Linked DNA regions of Homo sapiens: regions 1, 3, 4 and 5 are each linked to region 2. The links are contacts of gene promoters, found by promoter capture Hi-C in blood cells and fetal thymus (Javierre and others, 2016). All regions are on one chromosome and are shown on one strand. The core of a region is centred on a gene start or on the middle of the fragment in contact, and the rest is flanking DNA. Distances in the headings are between cores, read along the strand shown.

Region 1 (3,084 bases), core at 119-2,618, 400 kb before region 2:
TCTGTGAGCCTCACAATGCTCTGTAAGATGCATTTCAAAAATCTAGCAATAAGATTATTGTGAAGATTAGCTATATTGCATGTTATGTACAAAGCAGCCACCAATCCAGACAGGATGTAAAAGGCTTTGATTATCATGCTAAGGAGCTTATCCTGTGGATCATGGAGAGCCGTTCAAGGGCTTTAAGTTGGGGATGACAAGGTTGGAGTTCTGCTTTAAAAAGATGGCTCTGGTGATTGCAGGGAGGAGATCCTGGAGTGGAGAGACGAGAGGTAAGGAGACCAGGTAGAAAATGCCAGGTTCAGATGAACACCGGGGTCTCAGGGACTCTTTCCACAGTAGTAGACAGGGCAGCTTAAGAAGGCATTCAAACAGACAGGACTTGGCCGACATACTGGGGTGGCAGGCGATGAGAGAGAGAGGCTCAAAGATGCTTGAGCAAGATCCCTACGCATGGACACACCTGTGGACGCAGCAGGGAGGCTTAAGGGACACCCCGGGGCTGGGAGGAGACACATCTTGGCTCATAGAAGAAGGAGATTTCAGACAACTAAAGCTGCTGCACCAGGAACAAGCTGCTTTGTGAGACAACCTTGGCAGAGAATGCAGGACCTGCCAGGAAACTGAGCAAGAAGTCCCAGTGTGGGCGGGGGGAGGGGGGGGGGCAGGAGGCTGGACCAGGTGATCCCCCAGGGCCCCTTCAATCCACAATCTCTGATTGCCTGCACCCCACAAGGGAATCCCCCATTGACCAATCTCTTCCTATTTTCTTTCCAGGGAGAGTTTGCAAGGATTAAATTTTGGCGCACAGATTGAGCTCAGACAGATGTTTGTTTAAGTATGGGGGAAACTGGAATTTCTACCAACTGGGTGAGGTCAGCTGGGATAAGGAAGTCTTTTTCTAAACAGGAACATCCATTCTCAGGGTGAGGATGATAAAAGTTCTATTTCAGTAAGAAGGTAACATGAAAGGGTTCAGAGAACTCTTTTGCCTAACAGATCCTGGATACATGGGGTGGATTATCCATTCTATACAAGGAGATAACTGGATGCTGCCTCTCTGGCTGTGGTCAATCCTTTATCCAAGTTCATGGTCATGGAGACTATTAGCATAGTCGAAGAAAGCCTGAATTCTCAAGGAGTGTGGAGTTGAGCAAAAGTTGGGCTTTGGAATCAGAATGATGTGAGTTCAAATCCTGACTCTCACTCTTAGGGACAACTTACGCAAGTTTATTAACCCCTCTCAATTGGTTTTCTCATATATAAGTGGGGGATACTATCTGTTTCCCTTGCTGGAGTGGTTCGTGGCTAACCGCTAAAGTCTATGAGAGACTTTGAACACATATAGGCGCTCAGTATAGTGCACCTTATCTCATTGCTAGTACTAGCAAAGAGCAAAATGTTTCCCGGTTAAAGCAAAGGTGATGTAAAAAAACGAGCTAAAATCAAATTGACCAAATGTCAGGAGGATGTCTTTTCCTGTCTCCTAGGAGAAAGTAAGTTTTAAGTAACAGGACAAACTTGGGAAAAGAGAGATGAAGGAAGCAAGTGTGGCATGGAGAACGCTAAGTAACCAGTACTGCTGAGGAGAACTTCAAGTGTCCAGAAGAGAAAGTTCACCCCTTTTCTAAGGGAGAAGCAGGCCAAGTTTGCAAAGCACTTCTGTCCTGGCTACACGGTGGCCTCCACACCTGAGCCTGGGTTGTTTCACCCCGGGCCTGCAGCTCTGCATCCAGATGGGGGAACTTGCAGTGGCTTGAGCTCCACCCAGCCAGGGCAGCTTTTCTCAGGCATTAGGAGATCCACCTAAGTCTCCTGATTTGCAAACCAAGTGGTTGCTGTCCTCCCAGAAAGTCATAACCCTAAGGGTCCTGATCTCTCAAGCAGCTCAGGTGTAGTAGGGAGTCCTTGAAAATTCAAGTGTCAAAAGAGATAAACAGAGCACAAGAGGGAGATTAGGGATGTCACCTTAGGATTTTAGAGTCTACTTCCTGACCACACTACGTGCAGATGGTCAATACCTATAGTCTACCTTCCCTCAGTGTTCCTCTCCTCCAGCCATTCCCCTTATCTTCAAGTTCCCTTACTCTCCTCCTGACACTATTGTTGTTTGAGCCTAACAACAGCAGAGAGGTGTGGACAGAAAACAGATACAGAGAAAGCCAAATAAAGTTGCTTAAAGTCGTATTAGCCAGGCCAGCTCTCAAACCCAGACCCCTGACTCCAATCCAGTGTTTTCTTCCAAACAGCCCTGCCTCCGCAACAGGCGCGTTGTTTGTCAAGACAACACGCATCCCATCTGCCGGCCTAAGATTGACCCATGGCCGAGTAGAAATTCCAGTGTGGCTCCCTCCCCTTTCACTAGTGAAGCATCAGGATACCCCCAGCTTCAGAACCCCCCTAGGTCATCTGAACCACACATCCTAGCTCCCTCATCACCTGACCATTGCTGAAGGCTGGTTTTGGAAATCTTCGTCTTGCGCCTGGAGGCAGCTTTCCACAACTCTGACAGCCACCGGGGGAGCAGAAACTCACACTCCAGTAGTCTAACACCAGCATCAAAGTCAGAGTTATTTTTCATTTTGCTAGCAATAGTTTGATGTGCCTGATTCCCGTCTCACAGCTGTGAGCAGGTTGCAACACCAAAGCTCTCCAGTTTGCAGTGGTAGTCGCAAGTCTAAGAACTCTGGATTCATTAGAACAAAAGGAAACCAAGCCTTCCTTCTCGTATCTACCGCTGCTGGTGCGGAGAAAACCCACAATATGGGTACTCAAACAAGAAGCCTCCTTTTCTCCCTTTCAAGCTCTGGAACACCCATTAGTTCATTTTCCTATTTTCTCATTGTATGTGCCATCTTCAGTTTATAATGAGTTTGAAGTTATTAAGAAGAAATACTGAATTCCCAGCTGTTGGAGCTAAATTAGACTACTGAGCTGCTGCATTTGCAGCTAACTGGAGAAAAATGCAGGCTCTCTCCAAAGAACAGGGCAAACTTGCATTTGAATGCTCTTCTGCTACATTTATCATAATGAGTTTTCTTTCCAAAAAGATAAGACCCAGTTCTCAAGGTGAGGGGAAACAAC
Region 2 (2,982 bases), core at 257-2,756:
TTACTGCAATTAACCAATGAGTGTTAAGGAGTGGAAACTTATCTAACCAGCTGCCTCAGCAACAGCTTCCTAGCTGCATAACCCAAAAAATATTCACATTAAGACAAACTAAGTACTTGAAATTAAACAGTAATATATGCAGATCTCTACCCGTCTACAAAATAAATTATTCATGATAAGCACAAACTGCAGTGGGAAGGAGGCTACAGAGGAAAAAAATACAAACTTTGGGCTGAAAAATGAGTCGTTTCTCCAGCAAAGAAACACTCAGAAAAAATGTAAGATAACTCACATGGGCTGGACTACATAATCTTTAATAAAGGTTCTTTTCGATCTGGCTGCTTCCTCTGGGTCTAAAACAGTAACTGGCACGTGTTAAGCACTCAATAAATATCTGTTAAATAAACATGGATCCAAAAAATAATAATAATAAAAAATAAAATAAAATAAACATGGATCCATGGTTCCTACTCTTCATCACAGACCCGGGAGGCCTTCACTACCAAACAACTGATAATCCCAAGATCCAGTCCATAAATTATCAACCTCTATAACCCTTCTGTAGCGGAGATCCCAATCCCAGTCAGCAGCTCTTTACTCTGCACTTCCGTGGCATTTTGCTCACATCGCTAACTATAGCGCATAAAACGCTAGGTTATGAAAAACGTTTACGGGACTGTCTCCCCTCTAGACGAGAAGCTCCACGAAAACATATTCATCTCTGTATCCTTAGCACCTAGCACAGCACCTGTGACACCGAGACAGACGAACGGACACGCACACCCTTATTAAATGCTCTTTTATTGAAACACACAAGACCTGGCGCGATCCAGCCCCCAGTATGGGTAAAGGCTCAGATTCTGCGCTCTGCACCAGCCTGGCAGATGCTGCAGACTGTAAGGTCCTGGAAAATTCTCCCATCGCAGTTGAGCGTCGGCCCAGACTAGCCCTAGCCAGACCGCGAGAAGGGACCACTGAGGGTCCAGATAGGAGAAAGGACCCTCGAGTCCAGCGCTGTGCCTTCCCCTCCTAATACAGAGAGCGACACTAACAATCCCCTCTCCTCCCAATACAGAGAGCGAAACTGAGAACCAAAGTGGGATCGTACGCTCCCCAGAGCACGAAGTTCCAGCCCCCAACAACCGAATTCTGAGCCCAGGAAGAATCTCAGGGACCACCACCCCACCCCGCCCTAGACCCCCGCTAGCCCAAGGTGCCGTTGCCAAGGCGACCGCACAAGCCAACCGGCCCTAGTCCCCCACCCACCCGTCTCCACTCCCCTACGTGGCTCCTGCTACGTGGCTCTACCCACGAAGCGCCCGCGCCAAGCTGGCTGCTGCTGTAGATGGGCCTGGTTCACCTGTACTTCAGTCTCCGGTGGCCACTCGGTGTTGACCAACAAGTCATAGAGAATCGTCTCCTCCTCACCCTCTGCAGTGCCTGGACTCAAAGCCGGCCCTGACTCGGGGGCCGCCATGTTCGCCGAGGACTCAGGCAGCGGAGGAGTGTCTCTACGGAATCCCTCACAGGACAAGCTTCTCTATCCGCGGCCGCTTTTGTTTCACGGCAAGGAAATGCTAGGTTAACCCTTTTATGAGTAGGAAGGACAGGGACTATTGCTTGTCTTGGGAACGACTTGTGTCCCGGTCCTGATACACTCCTTGTTCATTAATCTACATGAGATCGGCCAAGTCATTGAGCCTCTCTTATAACTCAGTTTCCATAAAACAGAAATGGTAAAGGTACCCCACTGAAATGCTAATGTTCATTTGTATATTCTTTGCCTAACACGTAGAGAGAGTTCAAACAGTGGTTTTAAAATAAACAACTAAAGTTATCCAATGAAAGGTAGCAGAGGAAGGATGCTACAGGAGCTCAGAAAAGGCAACGAAGGCCAGAGTCTGCAGGGATTTCCTGGAGGACGTGGAGCTTGTCCCTGCGTCTTTAACAATAGGCAGAATTTTAATCTACTGGAGAAGCATTTCAAGTAGCGGGAAATGGAATGAGCAGAGACAGAGGCAGAAATACAGAGTTGAAAGAACTCTTTCAACGTGTCGCCAGTGAGTGACGACTTTCTCAGTGTGGGAGTAAAAGAATTTACCAAGACAGTGGTAGATAAAGAAAGACAGATTAAAGAAAGTATGAAAGTTCGTTGCCAGGGAGCAGCGGGCCGACTCAGCAGAGGAGGAGCTCATTGCTAGGAAACAAAGGCTTGTTGAGAATTTTATAGACTGGAACTTGGAGTGATTGATAACACCAGGTAGCAGGGAGTTAACTTGCTTTTTTTTTTTCTTTCTTTCTTTTTTTTTTTTTTTTTTTGTCAGCTGAAGTGTTTCAGAAATTGAGGCATTTGAAGGTAAGCAGGAAGTTTGTGAGTTAAGTACGTTATCTGGGTAGAAGGGCCATATGTCCTGGGCCATAAAGAAAAGTAGACCTATGGCTTATTTGTTTCTTCCTTTTGTTTATATGTTTTGGACCATGAAGAAAGACAGACGTATAGCTAATTTGCCTTATCTCTTTGTTTTTCCCTGCTCCCACTAGCCTGCCTTTTTTTTTTTCCTAATTAGTACTCAACAAGACGGGTGAATAGAACCCAAGTTGAGAAAGGGTGTAGGGGCAATAAAGTTGAAATAATAGGTTGAGAACCCGCATGGAGGGAGCGAAAAGGTCAACCCCATTTGTTCATTCATTCATTCATTCAACAAATACCTCTTTGTGGACAGTTATAAGCAGAGCCTACTGTAACATGAATGAATATATACTGTACAAAGTATTACACTGTTTCACATCAAAAGAAACACAAATACTGAATATCCCTTGAGATAATTATATTCATGATATCCATCAAGATGCATTAGGCGGTGATGCAATTAAAAGCCTCTGCTGGGAAGCCTCTAACCAGCTCCCATTTCTCTCAAAGTTTAATGACCTCAAAGCCCTACGTCATCTGCCTGCTCCCCTAAATCTCACACCTCATTTCCT
Region 3 (3,210 bases), core at 208-2,707, 260 kb before region 2:
TAGGGAGGGATATCTCTTAAAAATACAAGGCTCTTGATTGGACCAATGTAGACACAGCTCCCACTACATGTAAGACTTGCTGTTATAACTTGGCTTTGTGTCCCCACCCAAATCTCATCTCGAATTGTAATCCCCATGTGCTGAAAAAGGCCCTGGTGGGAGGTAACTGAATCATGGGGGCAGACTTCCCCCCTTGCTGTTCTCGTGATGGAGTTCTCATGACATCTGGTTGTTTAAAAGTGTGTGGCACTTCCCACCTTGCTCTCTTTCTCCTGCTCCACCATGGTAAGATGTGCTGGCTTCCCCATCGCCTTCTGCCATGATTGCCAAGTTTTCTGAGGCCTCCCAGCCATGCTTCCTGTTAAGCCTGTGGAGCTATGAGTCAATTAAACCTCTTTTCTTCATAAATTACCCAGTCTCAGTTAGTTCTTTATAGCAGTGTGCGAGTGAACTAATACACTTGCCATTAGAGTCCTTTTACAAATGACAGATTTTCAATGATAGATTTAATGCTGTCATTCCGTATTGTTCCAGGTAGACATTTTTCCATATATTCCTCCTCTCATGCCATATATATGTGCTTGTGTCTGTGTGTGTGTGTCTGTGTGTGTGTGTAAATATAAACACCCATTAGGTTTTCAACTGGATATTCTATTTGAGCCGCTTGCTTTTTCTTCTCTAATGATAACGGTGTTTTAGAATCACAAGCAACAATACCATTTTCTGTTAAACTCCCTGAAATAAATATACTTCCTTTTAAAATTCTGTCTTAATAAAGTGGTGAGGCTGGGCACGGATGCTTGTGCCTGTATGTAATCCCAGCACTTTGGGAGGCCAAGGTGGGAGGACTGCTTGAGCCCAGGGGTTTGGGACCAGCCTGAGTGACATAGTGAGACCCCATCTCTACGAGAAATAAGTAAGAAGGTGGTGGTTAGGGAAATTCTATTAATTTTTTGATAACAGGTTGTAAGTATATACAAGTTTATAGCTCATCAAATATTTGTGTATAAAAAAATTTTCAGTACTTCAATTTATTGTATAAAACATGATACTGAGAAGAACTTACAAAAATGAGAGGAGACAATTTCTCACAAAAGCTTCTAAGAAAAAATTACTTACAGGGGAAAAACACAGGAGTTGGCATCAATGACCTGGATTACTAGTTTTTCCCTCTGAGCTGTAAATTTTCCATTTCTAAAACTGAAGCAATTTCTTCTGAATCCCCATAAAGACTAAATGAAACTGGATGAATGAGCATTTGTAAGTTCTAGCTCCCTATGCAAATTATTTTCTGATCATTGCCACTGGTACTTTCTATCTCTTCCTCAAGAAATTTTACTGGTTATGATTACTTCCGATATTCAAATTAAATTTGAGTAAAAATTCTTCCCCTGAGCTTATCACTACTTCTCCCAAAATATTCCAAAGCATCTCCTACTCATTCCAACACTGCATTTCATACGTTCATTTATTCACTGCACAAGTACACAACAATTAAAGTTTCGAAAGCATTTTCACGTGATTTTCATTTGACCCTCCTATCAAGCTGGGGATGTGCACGGGAAACACTGTTTCTTGTTTTAGAGACACGCCCATTTGTAGTTGAAGCATCCGGAGCTGTAGTCTTGCAGCTGGAGAGTGACTCAAGCCACCTGGCTTCCCACCCGCTTGCCCCACACTGCTGAGCAAGTCTCCATGAGTTGCTCTACATCCAGCTTCACACCCAGAATCACTCGGAAGTCTTGGTGTTCAGAGTACACTCAGACTTCCCTCCCTCTTTCCAGCATCTGACTTCAGTGACATGACGCATGGGTATGAAAGCTTTTAGCCTCTAGGAAGCTTATGAAGAGCTCTCTGGGCAGCTTCAAAATCTTCCATATTCAGTATTCAAAGTGATATGGCAAAATAGCACAGGCTGCAAAAACTAACAGCATAAAAAGCCATTCATAATTTAAAAAGGAAATTGTGAAGAGTTAAATTACTTGATTTTCCCCTCAAAACTTGGCAATGCAGTTCTTCAGGGAGGTGAATAAAGTATGATTTCTTTAAAGAATATGGTCAAATCCCCGTAAAAACAAAATGTGCATAAATATTCATGACAACAAAATGCTCAATGACTTAATCTACTGCTTACTACTAGAGGTAATAAATCTATTCTGGTTTAATAGTCTCTACATTTCTTGGTAATATTATTTCGAAAGTTTTAAACAGGTGGTGTGTTTCCCCTTTAGGGTTGTTATTTTGCTTGAGATAATTTTCTACTTAGTATTTTCAATTAGTAGCTTAAAAAAACGCATTTTAGAAATAGTCTACCATAAAATTCTGAATGTCATCCCCCGCTGAGTTTGCTTCCCTAGTCTATAAAACTAAAGGACGTTTCCATTTTTAACCGATTTTACCTTCTGAACACTTTTTTAAAAGAATGCTGCAAAGATCACACTTCAAAATACATTTACAACAATTACAAAGGTAAGATATGAGGGAAAAAAAATCAAGATACAGAACAATGTGCACAGCCTACTTACATCTGTCTAAAAAATAGTTATATAAGTATGTACAGCCATCAACTATCTCTGGATGGATACAAATGGGAAACACTGACTTATTATTATATACTATTTTCAACACTTGAGTTTTGGGGTCACATGTGTATTTTTTAAAAACGTAAAAATGAGTTAATTAGAACAAATACTAGAAGAGAAAATTCTCTCAGACTGACCATTTGCTAACCATCAATGCATAAAATTAAAAGGAAAAATGCAGGCGAGGGAGGCAGCTCCATGGATCATCTGAGAGAGCTGCTGGGCTCCAGGGGGCCTCTGCTGGCTCAGGACGATGCTGCCCTTCAAGATGCACAGGCTGTGCATGAGAAATAAGCCCACAAATTCTATCAATACTTTTATCCAAGGCTAGTAATCTACCTAAGTTAGCATTCCTGCAGCGCATATCCAGGAGGTGGAAAGAGAAAATGTGAAAAGACTGTGGAATTAGAAACAAGTTGAACTGACAACTGAGTGAAAGCTAAGCTTCACTGGGTGTTATTATGTGCAGGCAACAAATTGAAACCACTTTGATTTCAATTTCCAAGATGATTCATCTGGAGTTTGTCATATTTAATTCCAAACTCAGCAGTGCTGTTTTATGCAGAGGAAGATGCTGAAAACACTCAAATAATGAGCCATTAGGCAGTCAATGAAAAACTCCTATATA
Region 4 (2,977 bases), core at 317-2,816, 320 kb before region 2:
AAAAAAAAAAAAAAAAAAAATTAGCCGGGCGTGGTGGCGGGCGCCTGTAGTCCCAGCTACTCAGGAGGCTGCGGCAGGAGAATGGCGTGAACCCGGCAGGCGGAGGCTGCAGTGAGCCGAGATCGCACCGCTGCACTCCAGACTGGGAGACAAAGTGAGACTCCGTCTCAAAAAACAAACAAAAAAAATGCTGACAGGGGACATTTTCCTAATCCTATATAAATATTGATAAAAGAGATCTTTAGGAAAGTACTATTTCCAATGAAATTGGAAATGCACTGCAAATGCAGCTTTCAAACAAGTTCCGTAGTCCCCACTTCTTACCAGATTTCTGGCTCTAAGCCATTAAAAAAATCAGAGCCCACCATTGACTGACAAGTATTAATTATGTTACTGTGTTTGCCCACAAATAAACTGTTAACTCCTCCCTGTGATTCAGAAGTACAAAATACTAGATCTGTGTTTTGTTCAACAGACCACCCCTCCCTTCATACATGTAGATGAAGAGACTGAGCTCCAGGAGGCTCAGTGGCATGTTAGGGGTCATCGTGTACAAGAGAAGAGTAAAAACTGGAATCCAGAACACTTGGTTACCAAGTGCAGTGCTCCCTGCCACCTTACATTACACAGCTTCCACTCAACGATTTCTGCATCTTCACAGGCTCCAAGTTTATTAGAGAGTGCATGCTGGTTGAATGCTGAATGACAAAATCAAGACTGAATAAGAGTTTATAGCAGAGTGAATCTTTTATTATATTCATATTTGTTTCCCCAAGAAATATAAATTTCAGAAATTACTTGGCTATATCAGCTAGCCAAATGTATACACTCTTCCTAGCCTATTGTGTGATATGGAAGAGTTTCAAAAACAGACTGGCTACAGAATAGGGATAGGCAGCTAATTCACATGGGCAGGAAGTAGGGTCCTGGATGAAACAATGGGTCCCTATTCTCTTAAAGAGGTCCAGATGAGATCATTGTTGTCCAAGTCTTGACTCGCCTTTGTCAACCAACCATGGAATGAATATATGGTAAGCAGGAAGAACAATACATTCAGAAAAGTTGTGTTTAATATTTACTACTGGTGTGACTTTAGGAAACTTGACAAAGTGCTTCAAGCTTTAGTTTCTTCATCTACAAAATGAAAAAAAATGACCCCTGCTGCACAACTTTAAGAACTTAAGACAATATGTAAAACAGTCAGCACAGTGCCTTGCCCATAGTAAGTGCTCAGTAAACAGATGCTGACATTTAATTTGACCAATGGATAAAATACATGTGCCATCCTCTCCCGTTGGTTTGTCATCTTCCTAATAAATTTGTCACATGTTTCCCTTTTAGAAAAACCTTTTTTTTAAATAAGCTCCCCAAATTTCTCAGCACGGAACTCAAGAACCTTCACAAACTGGTCCCTAGCTAAGTCTCTGGCTTCGTGGTATAATTGTAACTCGAACCCTAAGCTACAGCCACACTGACTCTTTGTCATTACCTGGTGCTTTTACTTGCCGTCTTGTCTCAAGGAAATGCTCCTTTCCCTCTTTTTTGCAAGGCAAATTCCCAGTCATGTTTCATTATCGAGACACTTGGAGTCAATCTAGCCTCTACAAGCATTCCACTGGCAAGTCCTCTGCTCCAACATCCAAGTGCATAACCCACCTACTTTGTATGTATAAACTGTCTCGTCAGCATTACTGAGTCTAGCCCTCACACTGAAGTCTATGCTTTCAGAAAACTAGCTGTAGGTTATGAGAGACAGGTGTAACTTTTTCAAGAGTTTAAATTGTTTGACTTCATCACTACAGTGTCATTAGAAAATTTTCTATTTAAAATAATCCTTCAAGAGAACTAAATATTTCAAAATAACTATGTAACCTGACACTGAACAAGGCAGAGTGTAAATAAATGCAATCCTAAGTTAATTTTCCTGAGCCAGCTAGAACCTCTAAGAAGCAGAATGATATTATGATTAAAAATATGTAAGGTGTTTTATTTGACTAGGCGTTTTACTTAATTCAAGCTTTTTATTACTATACTTTGTAAAAACAGGTTCATTGCTGAAAGACTCCAGGGTATGGTTAAAAAATATATGTTTAACACTGAATTTACATCTAGTAGATTTATTTTCTTTAAACTGTTCCATAATGGAAGGAACAGAAGTAAAAGAAAGAAATGATTAAAAAAAAATGTACCAGAGTAAAAAAAATGGCAATTTCTTTACTGTATCTAGTGGCCCCACGGTACCATTATTCTTAACATTCTTTTCTTAAGCCCACAGCATTAACATGTCATTCATGTATATCATTACTATAATATCAAACCAAGATGATATTTTTAACTGTTCCCTGCAGCAATTAGTAGTTGCTATGAAAAATAATAATGGATTTTTTGAAATAAAGATAAGTGGCTAAACCGTTTCATCAGTTAATAAATAGGTACTAAACATCTACTTTCCAAGACCTGTAAAAAATGAGATAAAAACATGAACCAGGCTTACAAAGAAACCACATATATCATGGGAGATAATATAGTGAGAAGGGGGTGGAGGGACTGAGGAATCATGGATGACATCAGCAAATCTTATTGGGTCAAGCTTCAAAATATATCTAGGTTCTAACCACTTCCTACCACCTTCACTGCCACCACTCAGTTCCCAGCCACCATCATCTCTCATAAAGAGCACTGCAACGGTTCTAACTTGTCTCCCAGTGTGACAGAGATAGTGGTGCTCACCAAACACAAGCATTCCAACTCTTCCACTGCATTTGTCAATTCCCTTGTAGTTAGGATGAGCTGTGTTCCAGCCAGTGAAATCTGAGCAGAAGTGACATATACCATTTCAGAGCCGGGCAATAAAAAAACCCACATGGCTCACTATCCAGTTTCCCTTTTTTAACCACAACAATTAAGGAGAACATGGGGCCCAGATGGTGCCAATACAAAATGATGGGGCTTCCATCAGCCTGGATCCTTAAGTGAC
Region 5 (3,009 bases), core at 148-2,647, 420 kb before region 2:
CTCAGAACAAACACAAACAACTTAGAAACAAGGGCATGTCTGTGAGATGGGTCTCTGAATGGACTGGATGAATTCTCCACCCACGGGCTTCGTCCTGCCCTTAGAGCCAAACAGAGCACGTGTGTCCCTCTGCAGCCCTTTGGAGGTTTGCAAGTGGTGGTTACATAACCTCCACACACCCCTCGTATGATGGTTAATAATGAGTGTCAACTTGATTGGATTGAAAGATACAAAGTATTGATCCTGGGTGTGTCTGTGAGGGTGCTGCCACAGAGATTAACATTTGAGTCAGTGGGCTGGGAAAAGTAGACCTACCCTTAATCTGAGTGGGCACCATCTAATCAGCTGCCAGCATGGCTAGAATATATGCAGGCAGAAAAATGTGAAAAGGGAGACTCGCCTAGCCTCCCAGCCTACATCTTTCTCCTGTGCTGAATGCTTCCTGCCCTCAAACATCAGACTTCAAGTTCTTCAGTTTTGGAACTCGGACGGGCTCTCCTTGCTCCTCAGACCACAGATAGCCCCTTGTGGGACCTTGTGGTTGTGTGAGTTAATACTATATATATATATTATCCTATATATAAAAATATATATATATATATATATCTCCCATTAGTTCTGTCCCTCTAGAGAAACCTGACTAATACACCTTGTCACATTGTTGTGACTCCACAGCCTGGCCCCCAGGGCCCACCCACGGTCCCTCCCCAACACATATGCACACACAGTGTCAAAAGACAACATGCATTCCACAAATTGTGTAGCATGGCTGTGTCCCAGCTCCTACAGCCCGAGTATGGCTGCCTTGGCAAACCTTCCTGAACTATATGCACCAAGGTAATTTCCAGGCTCAACCCAGGAAAGCCTGACACAGACCAAAGTGTCAAATATGTTCTCCATCCCCATCAACCTCCCAGCCTATTAAATAAAATATAATGTTTGTTTCCTGAAAGAATGACTTTTATGTTTGGCTTGTGTTTATTACTATTGATTCAGATACAATTGCATTCATAAAATGTGTATTGAGCAACTTCTCTGCGTGAGGCACTTTTTAGGTCCTTTGGGGAAGACAGGAGTCGCTACACAATCCTGGCCCTCAAGCAGCTCCCATCCAAGGCAGAGGTACTTCTGAGTGGCCACATTGCTGGCCACTTTTTATCGAACACATCACTACAGCACACATCCACTGGCTTTGTTTTTGCATATCTATCCTCTAAAAAAAAGGCAGCAGAATAGAGGAGAAAGTGCATGGGCTTCGCAGTCAGCTCTGGGTTCAAATCCAAGCTTTGCCAACTCAGAAACAGTCCCATATGTTACGATACAGGTGGTTGCGTTGGTTTATGAGATCTGGTTTTAGCACATGCATGTTTTGAAGGAATGGGGCAGGGCAACTTTCTCACAGTTAAAGAGAAGGCCATAGCAATATATAAAGCCTTAAGGTAAAAGCTGACAATTTGCAGAAGTGCCTTTCTTTACTGCAAAGTGGCTGGCTTAGAGGCTACTAGAACTACTAAGCTTTCCATGAGGTTAAGCTATTTGGTGTAGCTATGAGTAGAGATAATCCTCCTGTAGTAAAACAGTGGGCTAATGAAGACGGCCACACCCTCAATCCAATTTTTAATTTAGATAGAAAGCAGTCTCCACAACCTAATCTCAAAAGAGGACGTACACATCCCATGGCTTAAGGTGGCAAAGAATAGACTGCTTGTGTTGCTGGTACACATACCAGTGACATTCTACATACTCTGCTGGTGTTTTCATTACTCATTTTTAGTTGGTTTTGTCAGCTTTGCGGTTACTAGATTTTGAGTGGCTTGCTTTAACTATTTTCCTCTAAGCCCTGTGCTTTTACACGCAATCTTAAAGAACCCAAGGATGTTTAGGGCCACACATATGCCATTACAGCAAAAATGCATTGAGATGTATGTGTTTGTTTGTATGTGTGTGTGTGTGTGTGTGTGTGTGTGTGTGTCTTCATGCCTAGTGTATGGTGGGTGATTTATAAAGGAAAGCTTTTATTATGGTTTAATCTTCACTCTGAACCTGGAGTTCCAGTTGAGACCTGGTCACTGTGAGACTCAGACCAGCACTGGCTGCTGGTCCTAGAGGCTGCAGGAAGAGGAGCATCTGAGTCCCAGGCTTGTCTCTGCCTGGACTGGGCAGACCACTGGGCACTGAGTCACTGGCTCCTGCCCTCTTACTGCAGCTCCCACTCCTGCTGCAAAAGTATGATGGAATTTTACTCCAAACAGGAGCTTCTCAAAATGAGGTACACCAACCAGTAGCCTCGGCAGCACCTGGCAACTTTTAGAAATGAGAATTCTCAGGCTTGACCTACTGGATCAGAAATTCTGGGGTGGGGGGCCCAGAACATGAGTTATAACAAGCTCTATGAAGGATTCTGATGCATGCTCGAAGTTGAGAGCCACCCATCTAAACATAAGGTGAATGCTTTCTTCGAGACTCCCTGAGTTGGAGAAAACACTCTTTCATTCATTCATTTTTCCATTTCTCATTGGAAAAATATCTATTGAGTATCTAGCGTGAACTTGATACTGTTCTAAGTGTTGAGAATGAGTAAAACAGAGAAACATCTTTGCCACCTTGGAACAACAGAAAGCAATGGTTAAGATCTCAAAGTCAGGGGCTGGCTGGCCTGGTATGAATCTCAACTGTGCCACTCACTAGCTGTGTGACTCAAGGCAAGTTACTTAAATGCTTGTGCTTCAGTGTCCCCATTTGTGCAGTGAGATGATAGTGGTCCCTATTTCATAGAGTTGTGGTAAAGAATAAATAGACTATGGTGTTTAAAGCCCTGTTTGGTACCTAGTACGCACTTAAAATGGCAGTTATTCATGACACATATTTAAGGATGGCAATAGTGGTCATCTTGAGTTAAATCTGATTTCAGGATAAAATGTGATGCATATCTTCTACAAGACCAGAAGAAACCTTTGTGATGATGGACTGCAGACGGCTGATAAAGGCAATTTTAAAAGAAAACTCAAT

The links. The method cuts DNA at HindIII sites, captures the fragments that hold promoters and counts their contacts. A CHiCAGO score of 5 or more calls a contact.
Region 1: a contact is called between a fragment that was not itself captured here and the fragment with the promoter of NBAS in region 2, in 1 of 17 cell types (fetal thymus). The highest score is 6.7, in fetal thymus.
Region 3: a fragment that was not itself captured here is called in contact with the fragment with the promoter of NBAS in region 2 in 1 of 17 cell types (fetal thymus); the score reaches 5.2 in fetal thymus.
Region 4: a contact is called between a fragment that was not itself captured here and the fragment with the promoter of NBAS in region 2, in 2 of 17 cell types (endothelial precursors and erythroblasts). The highest score is 6.1, in endothelial precursors.
Region 5: a contact is called between a fragment that was not itself captured here and the fragment with the promoter of NBAS in region 2, in 2 of 17 cell types (fetal thymus and total CD8 T cells). The highest score is 7.5, in fetal thymus.

The regions. Positions count from the first base shown.
Region 1 is chr2:15,159,938-15,163,021 of GRCh38, forward strand. It overlaps a transcript of NBAS not described here. Among named protein-coding and RNA genes, the nearest start is that of NBAS, 400 kb to the right of the region's middle. The HindIII fragment of the contact is 7,970 bases long and covers 1-3,084 here.
Region 2 is chr2:15,559,828-15,562,809 of GRCh38, forward strand. NBAS (NBAS subunit of NRZ tethering complex) reads right to left here and starts at 1,507. Exons shown (of 52, transcript NM_015909.4): 1 at 1,361-1,507. The coding sequence starts at 1,477. It overlaps LOC105373440 (a long non-coding RNA gene), which reads left to right and starts at 2,321. Exons shown (of 4, transcript XR_001739297.2): 1 at 2,321-2,356. RefSeq lists an enhancer at 1,297-1,706. The HindIII fragment of the contact is 4,253 bases long and covers 1-1,533 here.
Region 3 is chr2:15,297,275-15,300,484 of GRCh38, forward strand. The region is part of intron 40 of NBAS (NBAS subunit of NRZ tethering complex); the gene reads right to left. Among named protein-coding and RNA genes, the nearest start is that of NBAS, 260 kb to the right of the region's middle. The HindIII fragment of the contact is 724 bases long and covers 1,096-1,819 here.
Region 4 is chr2:15,240,448-15,243,424 of GRCh38, forward strand. The region is part of intron 44 of NBAS (NBAS subunit of NRZ tethering complex); the gene reads right to left. Among named protein-coding and RNA genes, the nearest start is that of NBAS, 320 kb to the right of the region's middle. The HindIII fragment of the contact is 898 bases long and covers 1,118-2,015 here.
Region 5 is chr2:15,143,463-15,146,471 of GRCh38, forward strand. It overlaps a transcript of NBAS not described here. Among named protein-coding and RNA genes, the nearest start is that of NBAS, 420 kb to the right of the region's middle. The HindIII fragment of the contact is 231 bases long and covers 1,283-1,513 here.